7 separate regions of the Homo sapiens genome follow, and regions 2, 3, 4, 5, 6 and 7 are each linked to region 1. Evidence: promoter capture Hi-C in 16 types of primary human blood cells and fetal thymus (Javierre and others, 2016). All regions are on one chromosome and are shown on one strand. Each heading gives the region's core, a stretch centred on a gene start or on the middle of the fragment in contact. The rest is flanking DNA. Distances are from core to core; before and after follow the strand shown.

Region 1 (3,560 bases), core at 419-2,918:
TTCCAGTACGGAGCCCCACAATTAGGGGTATGGACAAGTGAAAGTCTTGGAGTATTGAGCAAAGAATTCTATTGAATGGAACATGGCCACACCATACCTTGGTGTGATCTCAGGTATTGGATAGGTTGGCTGTAGATATTCAGTGAATGTGGGAGAAGGGCCTATATATCTATTGATGACAGAAACTGAGAAATAGAACATAGAATATTGGCTTGTGAGGAGGAAGGGTTTGGAGTAATAGGAGAGCAGTCACTGAGTATGTGAGGACCTAGGAGAACTTAGAAATCTTCCTTCTACAGCAGTCCCTATTTGAAAAGCCCTCAGGGAGATAGTTTATTCAGAAAATAGTTTTGCTTAGCTAAGATAAGAATGCGATTATAGAGGAAAAAGTGAGAGAATGTTTTACAGTGGAAAGGAGGTTCCAGGAGCATGAGGTGAACCTGGAAGGGTTCAACAGTAGTGCCATGAGTTAATAGAAAATAGGGAGCATTTTCTATTCTGGGTATGTGTGTGTAGAGGTGGTGTACATTTTCAGCTTCATAAATGGATACAGATGAGTGGACATATATATATAATATATTATATAATATATATTATATATATAATATATTATATAATATATATAATATAATATATATATACTATTAGTTCTGTCCATCTAGAGAACCCTGATTAATACAGCATTGTATTTTACTAAATTTCTTATTTCTTGTTATGCACATTTAGTTTTTCAATACATTGATTTATTAAATTTCTATCTCAATGTGATTTGTTTATACAAAATTGAATTAGTGAAATATTAACATATTTTAGAGATGTGGAAAAAATACCAGGTATGAGTTTAATTACTAGTCAATGAATTCATTCAGATAATTCAACTAGGATTAAGCTTTTTAAAAATTAAAAATAGTAAAAATTCATATTATTTTAAAGACTTTCAATAAACGTTTTTGGTTTTTATTTGCTTTAAGAATTTCCTATGCGAATTAAATGATGTTGATTTTGTTTACTTTAGTAGCACATGCTCTTTTAGCCTAGTGGATCATTTTGTTTGGTTTGATTGGAATAAGATTACTCACTAAGTATACAAAGAGGGGGAGTTTTACATTCAAGTAAGATGTCAAATGGGCTTTCAGTTGTGTCCACAAGAGCTGAGGTCTCTCCAGGCCCTTTGCGGCTTAGTTGCATGAAGAGCATATCTAATATCGAATACAATTCCAGGCACTCTTCCAAGTGTTCCACTTGTATTATTTCATTCAATTTTACAGCAACCTTTCAGGTGTCTATTATTAGTACACTTTTGTTTTCCCCCAGAAGAAGAAACTGAGTCATAAAGACCTTAACTTGGGACAATCACGTGTGTAGGAAAGGGGTACCAGGATTCAAACCTGCAGTCGGAAACAGGGTTCTGCAAACTCACTACCGTACTATTCTGTCCCATCCACTGACACCGTACTTCGATTCAGAGAACTTCACGTCCTAACTGTGGCAAAACGACGAATGTGCTTTATTTGCAACACGTGCAGATAAGGACCCTTACTCTATTGGCAAGAGTAAGGCTATCTGGGTGGGAGTTGGGCGGGTCCTGTCTCCTAGGCAACAGCACATGCACACAAGCGACCAATAATGAGCCCCTCTCCAAAGACCCAGGAAGGTGATGTCACTTCCTTCGTCTGGGTGGTTGCCCCAGCGACACGTTGGGCCGAAGAGCGGTGTTGGGTACCCGAGAGACCCGGCGGTGGGGAAGTCACTTCCTCCCGAAGACGCTGTTTCCTAGCAACCGCCCTCCGCCTCTGTTATTAGCCCCTCCTCCTCGCTCGGTCCAGGACCGGCTCTGCGGGCGCCGCCAGGCCCAGACCAAGGTGAGCAGCTCCTACCCGATGCTTGGCTCTTGATTCTCAGGGTCGCGGAGAACTGGCCGCGGGCGTCCGGGGCCGGGAACAGAAAGCGGGACCTGGGGGCCATGGGGGATCCGGACAGAGACCGCGCTTGGACGTGCACGGGCCTGGCGTTCGCTGGTGCTCAGCATACGGCGCGGTGAGGAGCGGCGAGCACCCGGACGTCACCTGGCCTGGTAGGGAACGGAACCCGGGGCGCACAACGCTATGGGCGGCCCTGCCAGGCCTCTGCTCCGAGTACGGGAAACCGCGATTTTAATGCGGCTCATCGCGAAAGCTTCGTCGTTTTGTCTGGCTCTCTTTAACACTTTTGTGAGAGGAAAAATTGGCTTGCAATACATCTCGCTGGCTGTTTGCGGGTTAGCATTACGATCTTTTTCTTTGAATAGCGCTGTATGCAAATATATAGATACATTTTTTTTTTGGTGGTGGTGCTCATAATTTTTACGCCGACGATCCTTTTGATGGCCTTTTAAATAAGACGTGACTTATTTTGAAGGCAATGTTATACTTTAGAAGAGAGGTGAAAAATAAGGTGTTCTATTTTAATTGGCAGCATTTTGTCGTATTAACTTGTAATCATTTATTTGCAGACTTTTTAAGTAGTTGCAAAACTATTTTAGGATAACTTCCATTTGAATTTTTTTAAACAAGCTTGTTATGAGAATTTGCTATTTCTTTACAAGAACCTTTTTAAGTGAAGATGTAGCCCAATGTTCATATCAGATGCTTTTCTTTGACCTTTGTGGGGAGAGTAGAATCAAATGTAATAAAATAAATTCTGAAGCATGCGAAGTCTGATTTGTTTTGTATATTTCAGCTACTATCAGAAGTTGAATTCTAATAATTAGCTATTTTATAAAGGTAACGAGAAAAAATACACTATGTCTGATGAAGTTTTTAGCACCACTTTGGCATATACAAAGAGTCCAAAAGTTACCAAAAGAACTACTTTCCAGGTAAAGTATTTTTATTTGGAATCATTTCACAGTGTAAACACTGTATTAGATGGGTTGAAATTGGTGATTCTAGAACAGTCCTATATAAAGCAGGGGTAAATCTTATATTACTTTTGAGGTTTTGCACATGATCATGTTTGGGCTCCATCCAGTATTACAAACTCCCCTATATGGTTTTAAGACTACCAAAGTAGCCTCAATACTAGTTTCCTACTAAGTTAAAAGTTGAATCGCAACCTTAAATTGCCATTTTTATATAAAAACTTTTTTTTCTGTTGTAACATAATGTTTAAGTTTTTTTTTCTGTTGAGTCACTGCAATTTTGAACTCAGCCTCTAAGTTTGCAATATTGATTGCATCCATTTCTGAAATATGCCGAGACAAAAGCTCTTAAAAATACCAATTTCTTTCAAAATACCAGTTTTTAATAAATTATAATCTAAATTGAGCCCCTTCTTATTTGTTACCCTCCAGCTCTAATTATAACCTGCAATTAATTTGTTCCATAATGTGTGTCTCCTCTAGTTAAACTGCGAGCTCCATGAGGAAGGGCTCTTGTCTGTGATGCTCTGCATTGAGTATGAGGCGTAAAGTGGGTACATGGCATAAAGTGAGCTTGCAGGAAATATTTGTTAGATGAATGAAACCTAAGTTTGAAAGCAGTCGTTAATCAAGCATTGTTTGTTTAAAGAATTACTTGTGA
Region 2 (3,560 bases), core at 781-3,280, 440 kb before region 1:
TAATGACCCCTTCAACTACTCAGCTACTTGTTTTGTTTTTATAAATAACAAGGTTGATCCAATCTTCTGGTAAGGAGGAAACAAAACAATCAAGTATCTAAGATGATTGTTTTGGATAAAAGATCCAATCAATAACCTGTATATGTAGACCTGCACTGTTCAATATGATAGCCACTAGCTTCATGAGACCACTGAGCACTTGAAAAGTGGCTGGTCTGAAATTAGATGTGCTGCAAAATGTAAAATACACACTGATTTTAGTGTATAAATACACACTGATTTTAAAGTGTATAAATACACACTGATTTTAAAATGTATAAATACGCACTGATTTTAGTGTATAAATACACACTGATTTTAAAGTGTAGAAATACGCACTGATTTTAGTGTATAAATATGCACTGATTTTAAAGTGTATAAATACACACTGATTTTAAAGTGTATAAATACACACTGATTTTAGTGTATAAATACACACTGATTTTAAAGTGTATAAATACACACTGATTTTAGTGTATAAATACACACTGATTTTAAAGTGTAAAAATACACACTGATTTTAGTGTATAAATACACACTGATTTTAAAGTGTATAAATACACACTGATTTTAAAATGTATAAATACGCACTGATTTTAGTGTATAAATACACACTGATTTTAAAGTGTAGAAATACGCACTGATTTTAGTGTATAAATACGCACTGATTTTAAAGTGTATAAATACGCACTGATTTTAAAGTGTATAAATACACACTGATTTTAAAATACACACTGATTTTAAATATTTAATTAATGATTTTAAATGTATTACATGTTGAAATGATCATATTTTGCTTATACTGAGTTAAATAAAACATATTATTAAAGTCAATTTCACTGGTTTCTACCTTTTGAAGTGTGGCTACTAGAAATTTTTAAATTTAAAAATCCATGTCATATGTGACTTATATTTGGGCCTCACATTGTATTACTATTAAACCATGCTGTTAGACATTACCCTTGCAGTGTTCTTTTTTTTTTTTTGAGATGGAGTTTCGCTCTGTCGCCCAAGCTGGAGTGCAGTAGCGCTATCCCAGCTCACTGCAATCTCCTCCTCCTGGGTTCAAGCCATTATCCTGCCTCAGCCTCCTGAGTAGCTTGGATTACAGGCACGTGACACCACGCTCAGCTAATTTTTGTATTTTTAGTAGAGACGGGGTTTCAACATGTTGGTCAGGCTGGTATCAAACTCTTGATCTCGTGATCCGCCCACCTCGGCCTCCCAAAGTGCTGGGATTACAGGCATGAGCCACCGCGCCTGGAAGTTTTCTAAACAGACTTAAAAACACTGTGCTTTAGAGGAAAAAATAGTTATACTAACACATTAAGAAATTGCAACCTCCCATTATTCAATATCCTGTCCAATACTTGCGATTGAGGATATACAATTATTAAACAGGTGCCAAAATCACCACTGCACACACAAACTAGCACTGTGCAAAAGGCTTCCAACACCAGACACACTTAACTTCATAATGCTTCCTGCCTGTAATGCTTCTTCTGGCTACTGGCTTCTTTGGACAGACCACTAGGGTTTTTTGTCAGATCAATTTGAAATCTACATATTTCCTGAGACTTGTATTTTCTTCAGGCCCTGCCCTCACCTTGTCTTGGATTCCAGGACACAAACTTCTCAGGGGACTCCCCTGACCCCCCCTCTTCAGAGCCCCAGTTGCCCGGGAGCAGAGGACTCAGTCGCTGATTTCACCCATGCCTGCCTTAGACTGTAATGATTTTTACACAAAAATAAACAAAATATCTTTGATTACGTTATTTGTACTAGTACATCTAAAACTGTATGTAGTCACAGTGTCAGATTTAGGTACTGTTGTTGTCCAGAACAATATGATGGTATTATATTCATGGGTATATAAAAATTATTAATATATTGACATTTATTCATGTGATGCAGAAAACCACAAAAGGGACAGTATTTACAACAGTTTAAAAGTGTTTTCTAAGTTAATACTTTAATTTTATGTGACTCCTTTCCCCCTAATGATCTAAAACTGTTTGGTAGGCAACTGTGGTCACTACTTTACATAATTGGGAAATATATTTCATAAGAATAACATTTTAAAAACCCCAACCTATATGTAATACTCACTGATATTTTTTACCTGTAATTTTTTTTGAGACAGATTCTTGCTCTGACGCCCAGGCTGGAGTGCAGTAGTGATCTCAGCCCACTGCAACCTCCGCCTCCCAGGCTCAAGTGATTGTGCTGCCTCAGCCTCCCGAGTATCTGGGATTACAGGTGCCCATCACAACATCCGGCTAATTTTTGTATTTTCTGTAGAGACATTTTCACCATGTTGACTAGGCTGGTCTCAAACTCCCGACCTCAAGTGATTCACCTGCCTTGGCCTCCCAAAGTGCTGGTTTACAGGCGTGAGCCACCATGACTGGCCCCTATATTTAAGCCCTATTTGGGATAGACTGTACCACAGCAATTGTGTGAGTACATATAATTGAAATAGAGACATACATTCTCTCCTTGTTTTCAGGTCATCAAGAATGTGACTGTTTATTAAACACTTAAATTTAGCTAACATAATTAAATATTATAGGGCACATTTTTAGTAGACATACATAACATTAATACTCATATACACTAATCAGGACCTTAGTCATTTTGATTTTAGCTTGGAGTCAAAAGTCCTCACCAAGTGTTTACCTCAGATTTGTTTATTTCTTGGAAGTTAGCTTTCAGTCTTTCGGTTGATCTATTCAACACTACTAGATTGTCAAAACTTTAGATTGTATTCCCAAAAGTTTCAGGCCAAAATCCTAGCACAAGAGTTACTGGAAAAGGGTACTGATCCAGACCACAAGAGAGAGTTCTTGGATCTCATCCAAGAAAGAATCTGAGGTGAATCCACAGAGTACAGTGAAAACAACTTTATTAGGAAAGTAAAGGAGTAAAAGAATGGCTACCCCATAGAGCAGTGGCATGGCTGCTGGACTGAGTAAACTTATGATTATTTCTTGATTAAATGCTAAACGAGGGGTGGAATATTCATGAGTTTTCCAGGAAAGGAGTGGAGAATTCCCAGGACTGAGAGTTACTCCCCCTTTCAGACCAGATAGAGTAACTTCTGATGTTGCCATGGCATCTGTAAACTGCCATGGCGCTAGTAGGAGCATCTTTTAAACTGCTAATTTATTATAATTGGGATATAATGAGCAGTGAAGATGACCAGAGGTGGCTTTCACTGCCATCTTGGTTTTGGTGGGTTTCGGCCTGCTTCTTTACTGCATGGTGTTTTATCAGCTGAGTATTTGCTTAACTACTGTTCTACAATAATCTGTATTATTATCTTTAAAGCAAAACGTATTCTTAAATTAAGAATACATTTATTCCTAAGATATTGGGACACCTGGACATTTCCTGGGTCTGTTAAGTCCTGGGTCTGTTTGGTAAACATTATTAACCTATTCCCTTAACTGTAGACATTCTGTGACTAAGAATGCCCAACGTCCTGGGAACGCAGCCCAGCAGGTCTCAGCCTCATTTTA
Region 3 (3,560 bases), core at 656-3,155, 420 kb before region 1:
TTAATTTAAAATAGTTCAAACCCAGAAAGAGACCTTTTAGATTTTTTGCTAACATACTATAGAAAAGATAATTTTTGATGTCAAATATACCAATGTATTTATTATGCCATCCTATTAGCTGCTTTAAAAAATCACTTTTCTACATAATGCCTATTTTGAAGGTCCAAAACTATAGAATTAGCTTAATGCAGATTATTTGTCCCATGGCGTAATGGCATAAACACTCCACAAATGTATTAAGACATGGCAAATAACATAGAGTATGTGATTTCTTCTGAGTTTATTAGCAAATATTAAATAAGATTATCCTTGTTATAAAGTAATACACAACAAGGGCTGTAAAATCTAATTACACCTCAGAGAATATGTAAATTTAATGGAATAAAATATTGTGGCATTCCTTTGTTAGCTAAAGATAGGTACTGATAGCCACTATAATTAATCTAAAAATGATTACCTTGGTGAACATAGAAAAAGTATGCTATCTGCTTCAGGTAAGTAGATCATTTGACCCTTGAGACGTAAGCAGCTGATCTCAGTCCCAGTCAGTTCATCCTCACATTCTAATTTCTCCACATCCAACAATCCTTCCTTGAAAAGGCAAGATACAACCATTAATGAATGCCTTTCTCCCTACCTAAGAATTCAGCAACAAGGACACGCATATCTCATTTCCCACCAAACCACAAAGCAGAATAAGTGCATCATTAGAACAGGAGAGGGCCTTCTGTCAGAGTTCTGCCTGTAATAAGCCTAGTGGCTGCCTTGCAACACTGCAGAAAAGTGACTGTCCCGTCTGAATTCAGGACAGTAACTGTGCTACTCTTCACATAATTATTTCAAGCTTTTGTGAATCTTTTTTATCCCCCTGATTTTCCGGTATGGTTCCAACATACATTACCAGACTCTCAAAGAATAAGCCAAGCCTCCCCATTCTCCCACCCTGTATTCATAGAGCAGCTGCAAACAGTCAGTTCCAAATACAGAAAGGATTCAATGGGTACTCTAGGAAAATGACTTTTGCTGTATCTATCCCAAGAACAGAAACCGTGAGATCCCAGCACTATCTAAATTATCAACTGTGTGAATATTTCATCACTTTTATTCACCCACAAAAACGCTACTAAGAACAATAGACAATTTAAGAAAGAATAAATAAGTGGTTTTGAGTGAAGTTCCAAAAAAAAAAATCCTTTTTAGTTCTGATTTCTAAAATAAGGCACTGTAGCTGTACAGGGAGTAAAAGATGTTGGTTTTTTGATGTGAAACAAGGCCGTCTCAGAAAGACAGTCTCTAAAATTTACCTCTGTTAATTTTAATCAGTTGATAGAGTTCCACTGCTCCTCAGGCAAACCAAAAATCAATGTTATTGCCTTTTAAATAGATCTTCCTTTGAGGTCTGGGTTTTATCTCTCTATACTTTCTCAGAGAATGTGATAATTTTCCCCCCTGAATACTTCTAATTTGTGACATACCTTTCTCACATTTAATGAAATAATATCTTGATTACCTTGCTTCTCAATACAAAAACAGTATTGATGTGAGAAAGGATCCCATGGAAACTAATATCAATATGAGGACGAACCAGCGAGAAGACAGACAGAAGGCTGCAATTCCCAGGCTGGAGCTAAAATATAGATAGAGAGCAAAGAGTATCACATCAGTTAAAATAGTTTTTATACTTTGATATTAATCGCTTGATTAAATCAGCTCAGTTATATTTAAAACTAGAAAATTATAATTATTATAATTCAAGGGAAACTTAGCTGAACTATCAACTCAAATCTCAATCTATACAACTCAGTGATTAAATGGACATTAAATAGTTACAAGAACATGAAATCTGATATGGATTCAGATGACTAATATTCAAATGTAAGCTAGCATAAATTTACAATGCATTTTCAGAAGGAGAAAAAATGAAAATTTATCTTTTAAAATGTACAGTGTTATGTTAAATGTGTATGGCTTGAAATGAAATTAAAATACCAAAAACATGAGCAAACCCTCTCTTAATATTTATCTAGAGGGCTAAAAGTGAAAACAATAGGTAACACTGATTGATTGCTTACAATGAACTAAGTATTTTTCATATGCTTTCTATTCTCATGCCAGAACAAAGAGAAACAGGCTGAGAGAAGTGAAGTAATAAGTTCAAGGTCATACAGTAAGGGACAGGTAGAGTCAATACCAGAGCCAGGACAGCACACTACTCTGCTTCCATTTCACCTGATCCAACTGGGCTAATCCTGAATTTTCAAGTCTCTTTAATTACAAGCAAAAAGTATCTCTAAACGTATGCCATATACAACTCCAAAAGTTAGTATTTAAGAAAAAAAGAGTAAGCATAAAGGATTTTACCAATGGATCTGTCATAGAAGTCAACAGCAGTTTCTCATCATCATCCCAACTGCTTCCTTTGATGCTTTTTCTACTGAATCCATCATCATCTCTATCATTTTGTGTTTTAGTTCTTTTTAAAATCCCCCCTTTTCCCTTAACACCATCAATAGTTGATTTTTAAAGCTATTTACAGATGGTAGATATCCAATGAATATTTATTCAGTGAATAAATAAACATGTGAAAGGTGACTGTTACTAAAAAGTTACCCATTTTTTTTCACTGTAACAAGTATACTATTCTTACATAACATTCCTACTGTTTCTGTATGTGATTATTATAAAAAAATAGTTGTCCTAGGGAAAGTTGTGGTATGCTCAAATACACTTAGTTCACAATTAAACAATTTGTGTAACTTACAATAAACTGCATATTACCTAATACATAGTCAGAGGGTTAAATGAATGGATGGCTGCCTGTAACAATAGTATTTCTATGGGCTTTTGTCTCAGGCCCCAAGGAAGTATGCTGTCATTTTACCTGGGGGAGAACTCTGTATATAGCATTGCCACACTGAGTGACCACTAGGTCCCGGTCAAATATTATATGAAAAGGAAAAGCTTTGCAGAATGTATATGGGCTGATGCGTGATTCCTGGGTACCATTTTCTTCAAATCTGTCAAGATCTTCATAAAAATCCTCTTCTTTTGACTCTTTTTCTTCAATTAAAAATTGAGTATGATCACATTCTTCATTTCTTTGCTGAATAACCTGGATATCAAAGGGGGAAATGGCATGAATTGTCTTCATTTCAGTTTAATAAAAATACCTAAATATAAAAAATGAGTTATGAATACTGCATTTAGAAGATTAATTACAAAAATTCAAAACATATATGCAAATACTCCATATGTCTAAAATAGGAAAATATTTCTGGACTTTGATCTATAAAATTTGAAGATTGAATAATCATTGTAAAATTACAAATCTGGTATCAGTTCCCCAGTATCCTATATGGTCTCTTTGGTAGAATTAGAAAAAAAAAGCACTTGTGGGCTCTGCCTTCTTAGCCAAGCACACTTGTATAGTGAACAACCTGAAAGCCAGCTAAAAGCAAGCTAGCACTATCAAATAAGATTACAATACTATTTTAAAACAATGGGAAATAAAATGATAGAGATTCATATTCAAAAATAAATGCAATGTCATTTTTAACCAT
Region 4 (3,560 bases), core at 268-2,767, 400 kb after region 1:
CAGGAGAAATCATCTAGGTCTGGGAATTTTTAAGAGAAACTTTTTCTATTTCACTGCCCAAAACTTAAAGAACGTCAGTGGGACTCCAGCCTCCTACGGGGCTTTACATGATCCTGCCTTTCTATCAAAGATGAGCCGGCTGCCTCTAACGCCCATGCCCGGGAGTTGAATGAATTGATCCAGATTGTGAAGGCATTCAGTATTTCTCACTAAAGACACTCACGTCCACTAAAGACAAGTTTCTATTTTAGTACACTGAGATAAATAGTGCTGACATTTGGCTGTCATCCCTGGAAATAATTAGCCAGCGGGTTTGATTGATACAGCAACTCTGAGTTTCAGAGAGTGATACTATATTCCTAGCATAAAATAGGACACCTGGCTGAACTACTGTATCCAATTTTTGTCTGGAAAAGAATGCATTGCAGGTGTCTCATAGGATGGAGTTAGCTAGGCTGGGGAAATATTACAGGTAGAGGGAACCAAAGAAAGAAAGGGAGAATAATGTGTTCAGGTAATTAGAAGTGGTTCTGCATGAAGTGGAAGTAGGAAGGGATGTTGGGAGAGAAGACCTGGAGAGGTCTGCAAGTGCAAGATCATCAAGAATTTGACATGCTAGGTAGGAATTTGAGCTTTATCCTGAACATGATGGTAAATCCATGAACAGCTTAAATGGGGCAGGTATGGATATAATCAAATGTGCATTTTTAAACAATTCAGGACCGGGTGTGGTGGCTCACACTTGTAATCCCAGCACTTTGGGAGGATGAGGTGGGCAGATCGCTTGAGGTCAGGGGTTCGAGACCAGTTTGGCCAACATGGTGAAACTCCATCTCTACTAAAAATACAAAAATGAGCAGGGGATGGTGGTGCATGCCTGTAATCCCAGCTACTCGGGAGGCTGAGGCAAGAATATCGCTTGAACTTGGGAGGCAGAAGCTGCAGTGAGTGGAGATCACACCACTGCACTCCAGCCTGGGCGACAGAGCGAAACTATGTCTCAAAAAATAAAAATTAAAAAAAAAATCAGGTACAGTGGAAAAATGGCCTTTCTATTTACTAGAGTCACAATATAAGTTTTGAAAATATTAATAGGAATTTATTAAAGATTATACAGTTTGGTATTTAGGAAGCTTCTACCTTGAAATCAGTAGCACATAACATACTGACGAGCATTCTTATTGACAAAACAGAACACAGCTCTGTCCAGTAATAAAATAATTCCTCACAAATCCAGTTCTTTTCATTTGAAACTTACATGGAAAGGCCAAAATATGTAATTTTTCTGTGAAAAATCTCAAAGGAAAAGATTAATAAATTTAATTTCCCAAAATTTAAACATGAAAATTTAAACATAAACACAATATATGTTACAGACTGCATGTTTGGGTTCCCCCTACCAACAAAAAGAAGTTATATGTCAAAACCCTAACCCATAAGGTGATGCCGTTAGGAGGTGGGGCCTTTGGGAATTAATTAGGTCATGAAGGTGGAGCCTCAGGATGGAATTAGGGCCCTTGTAAGACGAGACATCAGAGCATCTCTCTCTCTCTCTCTCTGTTTCTCTTTCTCCCTCTCCCTACCCCACCCTAATTCTCTCTCTCTTTCTTCTCTCCTCCATATGAGACTACAGCAAGAAGAAGGTCATCTGCAAACCAGGAATCAGACCCTCACCAGACACCTGATTTACTGGCTCTTTATCCTTGGACTTCAAGCCTCCAGATCTCTGAGAAATATGTTTATTGTTTAAGCCACTCTGTCTATGCTAATATACTATAGCAGCCTGAACTAAGACAGTATCAGAAACCATACATACATTTTAAGGCAAACAAGTTGAGACCAAACAGTTGCAACATACATAAGATACAAGAGTTGCTATTCTTAGTATATAAGAAGCTTTAATACCTAAATATATCTATAAACCTACCAGTACAGAAAAGATCAAAGAGCATTAATTCAAAAAGAAATACACAAGGCTAATGCTGATGAAAAGATTTAATCTCATTAGTAATGATCAAATTCAGATCATCATGAGATATTTTTTACCTATCAACTTGGCAAATTTTGAAAATAACAGTATAGTGAGATTGACACAGGAAACTGTCAAAAACTCCTGACGGCATTATGAACTGCTCGTAATAATACCAGTATTATTGCTATTGGTATTATTTCCTGATAGGAAAGGAGTTCGGTAAAATGTATCAAGTTTCAAAACAGGTTCATTTCCTTTCATGTAGTTATCTCTTTTTCTATGAATCCAAAGAGAAAAATCAGAGAAATGGCTAAAGGATAATTACAAAAGTGTCAATAAACCTCTTGATTGCAAGTAATAAACCCAACTTTTAGTTATTCTTGAGTAAATAAATCAGCAATTACAGCACATGCATACACACAATTTTTTCCAGCCAATTAATAATTCACCATGCTCGGAGTCCGAATTGAAATTGGTACAAAGATCCTACCAATGGTGTGATAACAGTTTGGAAGGGGTGTTATGAGGCCAAAATGAAGAAAAACAGTTGATTCTAATATAAGGAGAGATAGGAAGATCACGGCACAAGACAGCTGGCTCCTGAGGAAGGATAATTAAAGAGGCTGGGCAACAGCAAGGCCAAGATGGTTCAGCATGTAGTTTTCTAACTTCTATTAACCATGTTAGTAGGATGAATGGGCGAAGAAACAGGATATATGGAAGTGTTATTCTGTTACCTCTTAAGATTACAGGAGATTTTATTTCCTTCCATAAAATTTTACTTTTCAAATTTCTATACTGAGCATGTATACTTACTGTTCATTCACTCAATCAATGCTTAATTAATCCTTACTCAGTACAAGACACTGTTCTAGGTGCTAGTGATGAGTCATGGAATGAAACAGACTCCTTCCCTCGAAGAGCTTGTCTTCTCCACACACAGATAGACAAGAAGCAATAAGTGTAATAAATTCATCACATATATTAGGAAATTATAGTAATGGGAAGGAAAAATAAAGCTAAGTAAGAGTAACCAGAAGTTCCAGGAAGGAGAGCACATTCAGAGTAGTCCTCAGTGAGGCAGATATACTTGAGAAAAGACGAAGAAGATGACAAAAAATATTTAATTTTTTTTATTTTCCGAAAAGTACAATTATCTCAAAAAAGAGATGGTATTTTAGTTCATTCATGCTGCTATAACAAAATATGTGAAACTGGGTAATTTTAAAATAATAGAAATTACTTTCTCACAGTTCTGGAAGCTGGAAGGTCCAAGGCCAAAGCACCAGCAGGATTGGTGTCTGGTGAAGTCTCAGTCTCTACTTCCAAGATGGCACCTTGTAGCTGTGTTTATAGGACGGGACAAGTTCTGCGTCCTCACATGGCAGAAGGGACAGAGGGCACAAAGGGACTAGCCAGTTTATTCCAGCCTTTCTTAAGGCATTAATCTCATCCATGAGGGTAGAGCCCTCATGACCTAATCACCTAATCTCTTTTTAATATTATTGCATTGGGGATTAAGTTTCAACATCGATTTTGTAGAAGATATAAACATTCAAATCATAGCAGATGGTGTAGAGTTTTGATG
Region 5 (3,560 bases), core at 365-2,864, 390 kb before region 1:
GCTTGGCTTAAGCGTTAAATTTTTCTATTCAGTGAATTACTCAATGAAAGAGGTCAGCAGACAATAATAAATATTTAGAGAGGTTCAAGTTTAAAAGCACTTTCATTGGCTAACAAGTAAACCTAGATAAAGAGAAACTCCCTTGATTTCATCTATGTCATAAGTCAAAGTCTTTCCTCACACAGTATGGAAAATAAACAACTAAGCCAATCCCATGTGCAGTTTGGGCAGATTCAACTCTTGGTGTTTCATTTCCTCATCTGTAAAACAGGCTAACAGCAGCAGTTACCTCCGGTCATTGTGTTGGTTAGCAGAATTAACCTATGCAAAAATCTCAGGGTAGTACTTCTTGCACACTTAATGCCTGATACTTCCTCTAACTGGTAAGTTATAGTAGTTGGAGAAGATGAAGGAAGAAGGGAAAAAGGAGAAAGAGGAAATGGCAAGTGGAAGAAGAGAAGGGAAGAATGACAACAAAATCTTAGTCATTTTTAGTCAGAATCAAATAATTAAGGTGCACTTAGTATGCAGATTTGCTGATAGAATTTACAAACTAAAATAGCCAAGAAACAAACAAGCTCTGTTGCCCCTAAGGGCTTTAAAAATAAAGATCGAATTCTCACCTGGCAACAAAATCAGAAATAATCACATTCTTTGTATCTGTAGCCACAGTAACTGTTTAGAAGTTGAATACGTATAAGTGAAATAGTTTCCCAGTAGCAATCAACTTCCTACTTACTCTTATTTGTTGGAATTTAAGCAGATCCTTTATTTATACTAATTACCTTTTCACAAAGAGGTAGTTGGTATTTTTATAGTGGTGGTGTTTGGTAAGTTGGGATTTTTTTCTTTAATGTAATTACTGGTGCCTAACCCAGGTGCCTGGAATTGCACATGTGCTTAATAAAGGTGCACATGTGCTTAATAAAGGTATACATGTTTAAAAATTAGTGAATGAATTAATGAAATCAATTTCCCCACACATTTCCAAGCTCCCTACAAAAAAAAAAAAAAAAAACAAACAAGTAATCAAACATTACTAACAAAAGTCCATCATTTGCTTTCAAACTAAAGAATATTTTTTATTATTTATTTTTTAAAACTAGGTATACAATTTGTCCAAAATATCCAGGTAACATTTCTTATAACTTCACATACAAGGAGATATTCCTTAACTACAATATGTGAACACAGAAAAACTGAATTCATATTCTGACCCTGAGCTCCTGCTACTGTACATTTTTAGAGTAAGTTAAGAATATGACAAGACTGCTATATTTCAGTTAAAGAAGTTTTCCATGGAGTATTTTGAAATGGGAGAGCCTGAACACAGGCATGTTGAAAACATAATCTCAACACAAGGTCTGCTCTTGGGCAGAAAAGGTCAATCAGGATCAAACAATCAAACTGACCAATGACAGCTCCAAGATACTATTGATCCCATAAACAACATTATCAGAACACATGCTGTATTAAAAAACAGTACGTAGGTGTCGTTTTGATAATAAATCCTAGAATGGTCCATTGTAGTGAGCTGAATTGGTACCATAATGTTGCATTGTCCCCAACCATTATTAAAACTAAAATCTCCCACTATAAACTGTGGATAGTAACTATATATAACATCTAAAAAAGTAAAACTTTATATTGCTTTTTTCTAAGTGGCTGTGGAGCATGAATAGCCTCTAAGTTTTCAATGGCCTAATCTAATGATTCTCAGTAAGCCTGAACCCCAAAGGAGAGACTCTGGCTTGAGGGAGCTGCCAAGTGGAGAGACAGGCCCTTTAAATCCAGTAACGACTTCCTGCCTGAACCCCCTTTTAGTTAGTAAAGGTCAGTCCTTTCATGTCAATGTGTTCACTCACTCATCCAATCACTGTAAACAGTAACAATAAATACTCTCCTGAGTGACACCCATACCTTAGTTTTAGGGGAAACAACAACAGTCTTGATACATAATTGCATGTTTCTTCCTGACATGCAATTGTCAGGAAGAGACCCTTAATGGTAATTTCTCCAATTTTGAGTCACAAGAGACCCTTAATGGTAATTTCTCCAATTTTGAAAACATATCCACAAAACTTACAAATCTTCATTTGAGCTGCTGAGCCATTTTCAGCAGCTTTAACAGACAAATGAATTTACTTAGACACTTGTGTATATGCTTCATGTCAATTCGCCTTTAAAAATATTGTTGTCAAAAATCACCTGTACGCATGCTTGAACATTCCAAGAAAAAAGAAAAAGCAGCAGGCAGTACTAATACACATAAACATGGCACATGTCCTTGCTAAATTGGTTGTCTTTGGAAAGAAGAAGGTTATAGGTCTTTCTCTTTGGAGGAAAACACATAACATGATAATTACAACTTTATCTGTGTTCAAATCCCAGCTCTAATAATTAATAGCTGAGTGTTTGAGGCAGGCTTTCTTTTACGCCTCTATTCTCTCATTTGCAAAATGAGGATAATGAAGGAATCTATTTTCTGTGGTGGTGATGAGGATTAACTGAGATAATGAGTATAAAGCATCTAGGACTGTGACTGCAGAACCATATGGTATGTGTTTAATATACGTGACATATTACATTCGAAATAGCATGACATGGTGAGAGCTCAGCTGGATTTCAAATTTAATTTCAGTATTCTAAACACTGAGTTACAGTCTATGACACTGACTTTAAACAGCACCACACATCCCTGCCTTTTAGAAACTTGCTAAAGGATTCAATCATGTCCTGAATCCAATCTAGTAATTGTCTTTTGACATATGAAATTGTCATTCTAACAATAGAGTTCTTAGTCCTTCCAATACATCCACATGACATGAGAAAACATAAAAGAACTCTGACACTTCCAAAAGGAATTGCTATTATGTATTGCTATATTGCTCTATCTTCTGCCTTTGCTGATATAAGAAATGTTTATTTGGCACAGCAATGTCACTATTAACAATTACAATGAACAATTACAGTTAACAATACTATAATGAATACTTGAAATTTGTTAAGAGGGGAGGTCTTAAGTGTTCTCACTACAAAAAAAGAGGGTGCCTATGTGAGGTGATGAATATGGCAATTGGCTTGATTACAGTGATTATTTCACAATGTATATGTACATCAAAACATGAAGTTGTGCACCTTAAATATATATAACTTTTATTTGTCAATTATATCTCAATAAATCTTGGAGAAAAAGAAATGTCTATTTGAAAACAGCTTATATTTAAATAGTAGTTGAATATGTCACCATGCTGACATAAATTCTGGTTGCAGAGAAGAATCTTTGATAAAAATATGTGTGTGCTCTATTCTTTGGAAATGAAAAAGGTGAAAGATACTTCATTCACATATAAACATCCATATTTTTATTACAGAAAGAGAGCCTGATATTTTATTGAATACATAGAGAGAGGGAGAGAGAGAGCACTCTAGAAAGAGTTATGGAGGCTATTGTCATGGAGGATAGACATTAATCAGTAGTACAAATACTAAGTACAAACTCTTGCATTACAGCACTATGAAGGAAAGGGAAAAGTTTGGATGTGAGAGAAGGTTCCCTT
Region 6 (3,560 bases), core at 693-3,192, 370 kb before region 1:
GGTCCCAGATGTAACCCTGTGGTGTATGGTCTGGCATTTTAGGGGATATCTATCTCTTCTGTTCTTACCTCAGTGTCCTGAATCATGCATACTCGTCGCTCTAACCTATTGAGCCTAGGAGACAGGAACAAACAAAATAGAAGGGGTTCTAGGAAGCTTGGTGTTTCTCTGCCTCCCTAAATATGTCCATGGTCCAGGAAGTAAGGAAATTATGAATTCACATGCTTATCTAACAATCCACAAAGTTATGGAAATGTTAGCTATTAGTAGAGCTTGCCATCCGGTGGGCAAATACTAATAGAGTTACCCCAACCCTTAGGGAAGTACTGCAATAGTCTCCTGGGATTGAAAATGCTGATAAATATCTCTTGGGGCATTTCTTTAAAATGCAGATCTCTGGAACCCAACTCTGCTGTTTTAATTGATAAATAAGTTGTTGTTTCCGGGAGTCTGCACTTTAACAAGTGCTCCCTCCCTCCAATGACTCTCAAGCAGGTGGGCCACATTTAGAGGTCCACTGTCTGGTTTCCAGGTGAAGTCTAATTCATAGTACTCTGATTTTCTCTTACCTGATCTCAAAGTTGAAAAGTAAATGGCACCCAATGTGCAGGGAACTCCCTGAGATTCCTAAGCAGGAATCAAATATAAGGAAATTACACACAGATTATTTCCAGCTGTGACAGTAATGAGCTTCTTTTAGCAACTGCATGGCCAAACTCCTGCTCTTAGTGCAAAACTCCTGCTCTTAGTGCAAAACTCCTCCTGGGAAGAAGCTACCATTGGTATGGAAATGGAGGGTGGGAGGTAACCAGATTGCAAGAACTGATAGTCCAGAACTCGGTTTATTCTCCCTTAAACTAAAGATGGGAGATAGGCGGGAACTCTGAAGTCTCTTCTCATCCCACACTGCAGCCAAAGAGAAGTGGCACCCTCTATCCACATTTTTTTTTTTTTACCTGTCAGTAAGAGATATTTCCCTGCCGCCTTTGCCAGGTGATAAAAGTCCTCTTTATTTTGGTATGTCCTTTTGTGGGCGGGGGGGGGGGGGGGGGGTTGCTCTACCTCTCCCACCTGGAACCACTCAGGTTTATAATAGGTAGAGCATGTATTGCTCTCAACTCAGGTGTATTTCATCTTTACCTGTAGCTAAAGGATTCTAGCTCTGATTCACCAGGCTCAGTAATTGATGGACACAATCCATGGAGCACTATCAGGGTTTTCTTGATTTGGGAGCACGAAGAGGGGACTTCAGACTCTCCCCATGCAGGCTCAGATGGCTTGCCACATTGATTCTTCCTTTACTGTCACTTAAACTCAGGATTACATTGCTCCCAGGCTTCAAGATGGGCCTAGTCTAGACAAAAACTTTCAGTCTCATGATTATGTGAAACTCTCAAATAATGTGTACCATGAAGTGTAGAACATTGCCTGACACTGAGTTAGCTCTCAGTAAATTACTTGTAGCAGGAATTGTACTGATAATGCAAATCATTCCAATCTTCTTTTAGCTTTTCTTGCAGTGAGGTTGGCTGTGTCACTTGTTCAAGGAAAGAGAATGTGAACAGAAGGAATACGTGTGTCCTCCAGGACTGAACTTAAAAATTTGCCACACATACTCCCCAAGATTCCTTCTCCAACTGCCCAGTAGATATATATACTCAAGGTGACATTGAAGATGAGAGTGATCTGTTGGTCCAGGTCATGAGTGGCTGGTGGAGCTTCAGCCCTCATCACCCTCATCCTTAGATAATATGTGAGAAAGGAACTGCTCCTGTGAGTCACTCAAATTTTGAGTTTGTTTATTGAAAGATTAGGCTACTTTCAAAGACACAGTACCAGCTCAGGACCTTGCAGGCTGAAGATTGCTTACTGTGATGATAACTCTGCTTCCATGAACATCCGTCTTAGGGCAAGAAGCTGAGTAAATTATTTATCCCACACTCTATCCATCCAAACAGGTGAGGGGCTGTGCCTTGCCCTTGTGTGAAGAAACCAGGTTCTATTCAAGAGTGTTACTCTTTCTGTGAACAGGAGGCAAAGGTATGAGCTGAGACTCTACCTGCTCTCAAAATCATCAGAAAGAGGGCTCAGAAGGAGTCACAATTACTGAACTGCTGACTGAAAGACTCTCTGGGGACTCAACCCATGGCTATTAATGTCAGTGTCACTGGGCCAGCTCAGATGCAAACCCACCACTACTGTGTCATCCACAAAATACATACAGCTATCGCATATCAGCATTGTGGGAGAACGGTATTAAAGTGAACTTCACTTTATAGAAACTGTATTCCTGACAGCCACATACAGTTCTTATGACCATGAATCAAATCGCATTTATATGAACAAAGGCAAGTAATTTAATAGAACCCTATTACAGAACATAGGATTCTCTACAGGACAGACTTTACACAGTGAACATTCACACTTAGTTTTATCATTAATTTTCATAGGGCAGGTTTGCTGTACTAACTAGGCATGCAAAGACCATGGGTCTCAGCAGGTAATATAAAGTGATGAGGCAGGTTGGGTGGATTTGAGGTAAAAGTGAGCGTTGGGGAATGCAGTAGATCATGAATATTTACCCCACCCAAATGAGGCAGCTCCCACTCAGGGACAACGGTTCATTGTAGAGACATTGTGGGACAAGTGATGCTGCATACAATGAGTGATCTCGATTTCTTTGTGAAATCATATGATTTAAAAATGTTAGCATGATAACCTGATCCTACTTGGAAGTTAATAAGTTAGCCTGCTGCATTTTGTAATGCTGGCAAAAACCGTAAGATTTCTGGGTCAGTGAGTAAAGAATGTATTACTCACAGCAACAGCAATAGCCAGAGTAGCCAGTTTCTTGAGTCCCAAGTCCACAGGGTGATGAAAAGAGGTCCAAGTAACGCCTGTCCATGCAGTAGGCTACATCACAAGAGAGGAACCCTGAACTTAGGGAACATGAATCTTTTATACTGAACAGTAAGCGTGCCTGCCCCTTGCTCCAGAAAGAAATACTATCTCTATCTTCCAAGACGATTTGCTGTACAAACACCCCAGGAAAGCTAGTGCAGAACAAAGACACTCAGAACCTCTGCTCATAAGACATGCATAAATATGAGAGACCACCTCCCAACAGTATTCTCCCCTAGTTTCTACACCATCTTGTCTTCTGGAGAATTTTCCCTTGGATACATCAGTCCATCAGCACTCTGATTAATCTGATCAGGAGAGCTGGGCCTAAATCTGTTCAATTTGGCTTATATAGCATTTAACTGCAGTTACTATCAACAGGACTTCAAGCAGTAGAATGAGGCCAACCTGCAAAACTGACCTGTCATGCCCTGCCTCACCATCTTATCCAGTCCTGGACTCAACCAGCTGAACTAATCCCTAAACCACCAAGTCTACCTTAGAAAAACAGGTATGTTTTTCCTCAAGTTTCTCTAGCGATCTTTCCACTTAGCCAAAGGCATTATTGCAGATACAGCAGGGTGTATTTGCAATTACACAGACTCCACCTTGGCCTGCAAGGGGAAAGTCTAGGGTGATTTTATTATCATTCATAAGGA
Region 7 (3,560 bases), core at 592-3,091, 300 kb before region 1:
GGATTTTTGTTAGCATAAGATGAAACAACAAGGGCTTATGAATTATTCTGAGCCAGTGACACAGAAAATAAGCAGAAATAGATGCTGCGGTGTATTAAATTGTTATTTGGGATAGAGCTGGACAAAGAGGAATATGACTTACAATTAGTGACTACAAATATTTTAAAACATTAAAAGAAATAGAATTTTACCCAAAGACGTTTGTTTTCGCTGGGAAGCCTGCCTTTTGCTAATCATATTTACAAATGTATAGTGCTAATCTAATATATGGATATCTTGCTTTACAACTCATGTACTGACAATTTTATTGCATTTACCCAAATTTCCTTCAATGCTACATTTGTAACTCTCTAAATACTTCATATATAGTGCTAAAGATCTTGATATAACTTTATGCTCACAAATACACAATTTAAAAGTTTATGTTATACTATGGAATACTGAAACTCCTTGTCACTTATTTTATTAACTTAATAATGTAATAAAAACCACATATCATTTAACTGCTTATAATGAGCATATTTGAAGCTGCAAAGTGATATTGCAAATGGAGAAAAATAAGCAGCTAAAAATTCCAGTGCATATACTGTCACGTGCCAAATAACAATGTTTCTGTCAGCTATGGACCACATACACAATCATGTTCCCATATGTTTATAATGGGGCTGAAAAATTCCCATTCCTTAGTGACTGATAGCCATTGTAATGTCATAGCACAATGCATAACTGAAATGCTCGTGGAGATGTTCGTGCAGGCAAACCTACTGTGCTGCCAGTCATATAAAAAGCATAGTACATACAATTACCTACGGTATATAAAACTCGATAGTGATAATAAAGTACTATTTTATTGGTTTATGTATTTACTATATTATGCCTTTTATTGTTATTTTAGAGGGTACTAGTTTTACTTATAAAAATAAGTTAACCGTAAAACAGCCTCAGGCAGTTTCATCAGAAGGTATTCCAGAAGAAGGCATTGTATTCATAGGCGAGGACTGTTCCATGCTTGTTATTGTCCCTAAAGATCTTCCAGTGAGAAATGTGGCAGTGGAAGACAGTGAAACTGAAGATCCTGACCTTGTGTAGGTCCATGCTAAGGTGTGTGTTTTTGTCTTTATTTTTAATAAAAAAGCTTAAGATGTAAAAAGAAATAAATTTTAAAAATAGAAAAAATCTGTTAGAATAAGCATATAAAGAACGAAGATGCTGGACTTGTAATCTAACCCTTCTTTATTTTAAACATTTTTTTTTTACAAGTACTCTCCACATAACTTCACTGTTCCAAGTAGGCTCATGATAGCACATGTTTTCTTTGTTTCTTTGTTTCTTTCTTTCTTTCTTTTTTTTTTTTAGATGGAGTCTCGCTCTGTCGCCCAGGCTGGAGTGCAGTGGCGCAATCTTGGCTCACTGCAAACTCCACCTCCTGGGTTCAAGCAATTCTCTGCGTCAGCCTCCCGAATAGCTGGGATTACAGGCACCCACCACCATGCCCGGCTAATTTTTTGTATTTTTAGTAGAGACGGAGTTTCACTGTCTTGGCCAGGCTGGTCTTGAACTCCTGACCTTGTGATCTACCCGCCTCGGCCTCCCAAAGTGCTGGGATTACAGGCGTGAGCCACCACGCCCGGCCATAGCACACGTTTTCACTGAGTGCTTATGAGCCATTGAGCACTTGTATTAGATGACTGTGTATAAAATGGGGAACTAAACAGAAATGGTACCTCTCTCCACAAGTATCAGTATAATAGTAAAAATTCAGCAAGTAATTATTCATATCATAATAATTCTACAAAGGAAGCACAATGTGTTACAGGAAAACATAATAAGGCATGCAATTTAGGCTTGGAAGTTCAGGGAAAGGTTTTAAGAAGCAGAGCTTAGTTTGAGATCTACAAGATGTGTAGGTGTGGGCCCCACAAAGATTGAACAAGGGGAAACGAAAAGCTAGAAATGGAAAAGTGGTGTTCTCCACAAATAAATACTTCAAAGCTATGGCCTGGGAAGGCTCAGCATTACCCGTTCCGCCACACACAGGGTACACACACACACATCAAACACACACATGCACACCCACACACACATCTGATCCCTGCAGTGAATCCTTTCCTTTCCTCTGTCTAGAATACTCTTCCTACTGTTTGCCACATTTAAATCCTACAGGTCCTGTGATGTCCAACATCCTGATCTTGTTTTAAAACCTCAGCTAAGTCTTAGATTTCCTCTGGAAAGCCTTACTCAATATTTCCATCATACCGAACTCTCTTCCTTCTCCTAACTTCTTTAAAACTTATTAAAACTATTCTACAAATATTATGCTCATTGTTAAGTGCTGACATGTATAATTCTGAGACTATTTCTTGGTTTTGTTCATGCAGACTTTAAATTCCTTCAAGTCAAGGAGTGTGTGTCATAAACTTTGCTTTGTATCTTCCTCAGTGACAAGCATAATCCATAATAAACTTTATTGAGAGAAGTACAAAATAGTGGCTGAGTCTCTAAGAAGAGTGTTATAAAATATAAGACATAAAATAAGTTGAAGCTTATAAAAAAAAGAAAAAATGTCCTTTTAATTCTTGCTATGATTGCCAGATAAAGTGGTGATAATGGCATTTTTATTAGATATAGGAAGAGCACACTGGATAAAGATATTCAAATCACAGTACATGAACAAACAGGCAGAACTACTCTGCTCTTGTTTTGTTTCATATCCATTCCTTAAGAAAACAATATCCATACTTATAAAAGTAGAACAAAACTAAAAATAACAAAGGTCCAGCATGTAGAATGATAGCAAATATTCTAAATGAGTTTAAATCCATTAATTTGGAGAAATTACACTACAAAATATTGAAAGCATGTGTGGATAAAATAAAGGAATTGTTAAAGTCATCTTTAAAAATATTGTGATGAAGAGAAGTGTTGACAGAGTCCAACCATTGCCTCAATTTTCAAAATTGGGAAGGTGGATTCCATCAGCTATAATTTAGAGAGCTGGACATTAATTGCAGGTACTATTCCAAAGAGATGATTAAAAACATGGCATGCAAGCATTCAAAATGTGAAGTGCTGTTATCTACAAGATAAGGAGAGGTCACAGGAACCTATCCTTGTCAACTAACCTAGTTATCTCCTTTTGTTTTTAATAGCAGTTACTTGACATCTATTCTGCAGAAAGTGGAGACTCATTTCAGGGAGGAATTTGACCAAGTCTGTCTCAGTATACTCTCTTAAGTCACACAAAGGAATGTCAACTTCAAAGAGAGTTATTTGACTATATAACTGGTTGAACAGCCTTATAAAGAGGAATAATTTATGGACTAATGTAAAGCAGGAGTCTAACGTAAAGGACGGTGTCTAGGAATATGCCAAAGGTAGTTCCAGTTCAGCATTGTAGATAGTTACTTGGATGAAGATGTTAATTATATCCTGATCAAATCTGTTAATTCCTCTAAATTGGTGAAAATGGCTATTCTGTATCAAGGACTCAGAATCCAAGATGACCTTGACTTTCTGGAACAACAGGCTAACTAAAGGTAATGATTAAATTTAATTGCAGT

Evidence for each region. The method cuts DNA at HindIII sites, captures the fragments that hold promoters and counts their contacts. A CHiCAGO score of 5 or more calls a contact.
Region 2: a contact is called between a fragment that was not itself captured here and the fragment with the promoter of MAP9 in region 1, in 1 of 17 cell types (fetal thymus). The highest score is 7.0, in fetal thymus.
Region 3: a contact is called between a fragment that was not itself captured here and the fragment with the promoter of MAP9 in region 1, in 3 of 17 cell types (fetal thymus, M1 macrophages and M0 macrophages). The highest score is 10.5, in fetal thymus.
Region 4: a contact is called between a fragment that was not itself captured here and the fragment with the promoter of MAP9 in region 1, in 1 of 17 cell types (endothelial precursors). The highest score is 6.6, in endothelial precursors.
Region 5: a contact is called between a fragment that was not itself captured here and the fragment with the promoter of MAP9 in region 1, in 2 of 17 cell types (fetal thymus and total B cells). The highest score is 12.6, in fetal thymus.
Region 6: a fragment that was not itself captured here is called in contact with the fragment with the promoter of MAP9 in region 1 in 2 of 17 cell types (total B cells and fetal thymus); the score reaches 6.4 in total B cells.
Region 7: a fragment that was not itself captured here is called in contact with the fragment with the promoter of MAP9 in region 1 in 1 of 17 cell types (fetal thymus); the score reaches 7.7 in fetal thymus.

What each region holds. Positions count from the first base shown.
Region 1 is chr4:155,375,073-155,378,632 of GRCh38, reverse strand. MAP9 (microtubule associated protein 9) reads left to right here and starts at 1,668. Exons shown (of 14, transcript NM_001039580.2): 1 at 1,668-1,862; 2 at 2,719-2,857. The coding sequence starts at 2,783. RefSeq lists an enhancer at 1,786-2,215. The HindIII fragment of the contact is 1,286 bases long and covers 892-2,177 here.
Region 2 is chr4:155,810,736-155,814,295 of GRCh38, reverse strand. No RefSeq gene overlaps it. Among named protein-coding and RNA genes, the nearest start is that of GUCY1B1, 53 kb to the right of the region's middle. The HindIII fragment of the contact is 6,377 bases long and covers 1-3,560 here.
Region 3 is chr4:155,793,408-155,796,967 of GRCh38, reverse strand. GUCY1B1 (guanylate cyclase 1 soluble subunit beta 1) reads right to left here. Exons shown (of 14, transcript NM_000857.5): 6 at 2,882-3,112; 7 at 1,511-1,627; 8 at 458-591. Among named protein-coding and RNA genes, the nearest start is that of GUCY1B1, 36 kb to the right of the region's middle. The HindIII fragment of the contact is 2,117 bases long and covers 847-2,963 here.
Region 4 is chr4:154,974,148-154,977,707 of GRCh38, reverse strand. No RefSeq gene overlaps it. Among named protein-coding and RNA genes, the nearest start is that of RBM46, 190 kb to the right of the region's middle. The HindIII fragment of the contact is 763 bases long and covers 1,136-1,898 here.
Region 5 is chr4:155,765,915-155,769,474 of GRCh38, reverse strand. The region is part of intron 2 of GUCY1B1 (guanylate cyclase 1 soluble subunit beta 1); the gene reads right to left. Among named protein-coding and RNA genes, the nearest start is that of GUCY1B1, 8.7 kb to the right of the region's middle. The HindIII fragment of the contact is 6,244 bases long and covers 1-3,560 here.
Region 6 is chr4:155,745,455-155,749,014 of GRCh38, reverse strand. It overlaps LOC105377506 (a long non-coding RNA gene), which reads left to right. Exons shown (of 8, transcript XR_007058484.1): 4 at 3,283-3,412. Among named protein-coding and RNA genes, the nearest start is that of GUCY1B1, 12 kb to the left of the region's middle. The HindIII fragment of the contact is 3,568 bases long and covers 159-3,560 here.
Region 7 is chr4:155,672,147-155,675,706 of GRCh38, reverse strand. All of the region lies in intron 2 of GUCY1A1 (guanylate cyclase 1 soluble subunit alpha 1), which reads right to left. Among named protein-coding and RNA genes, the nearest start is that of GUCY1A1, 7.1 kb to the right of the region's middle. The HindIII fragment of the contact is 1,407 bases long and covers 1,138-2,544 here.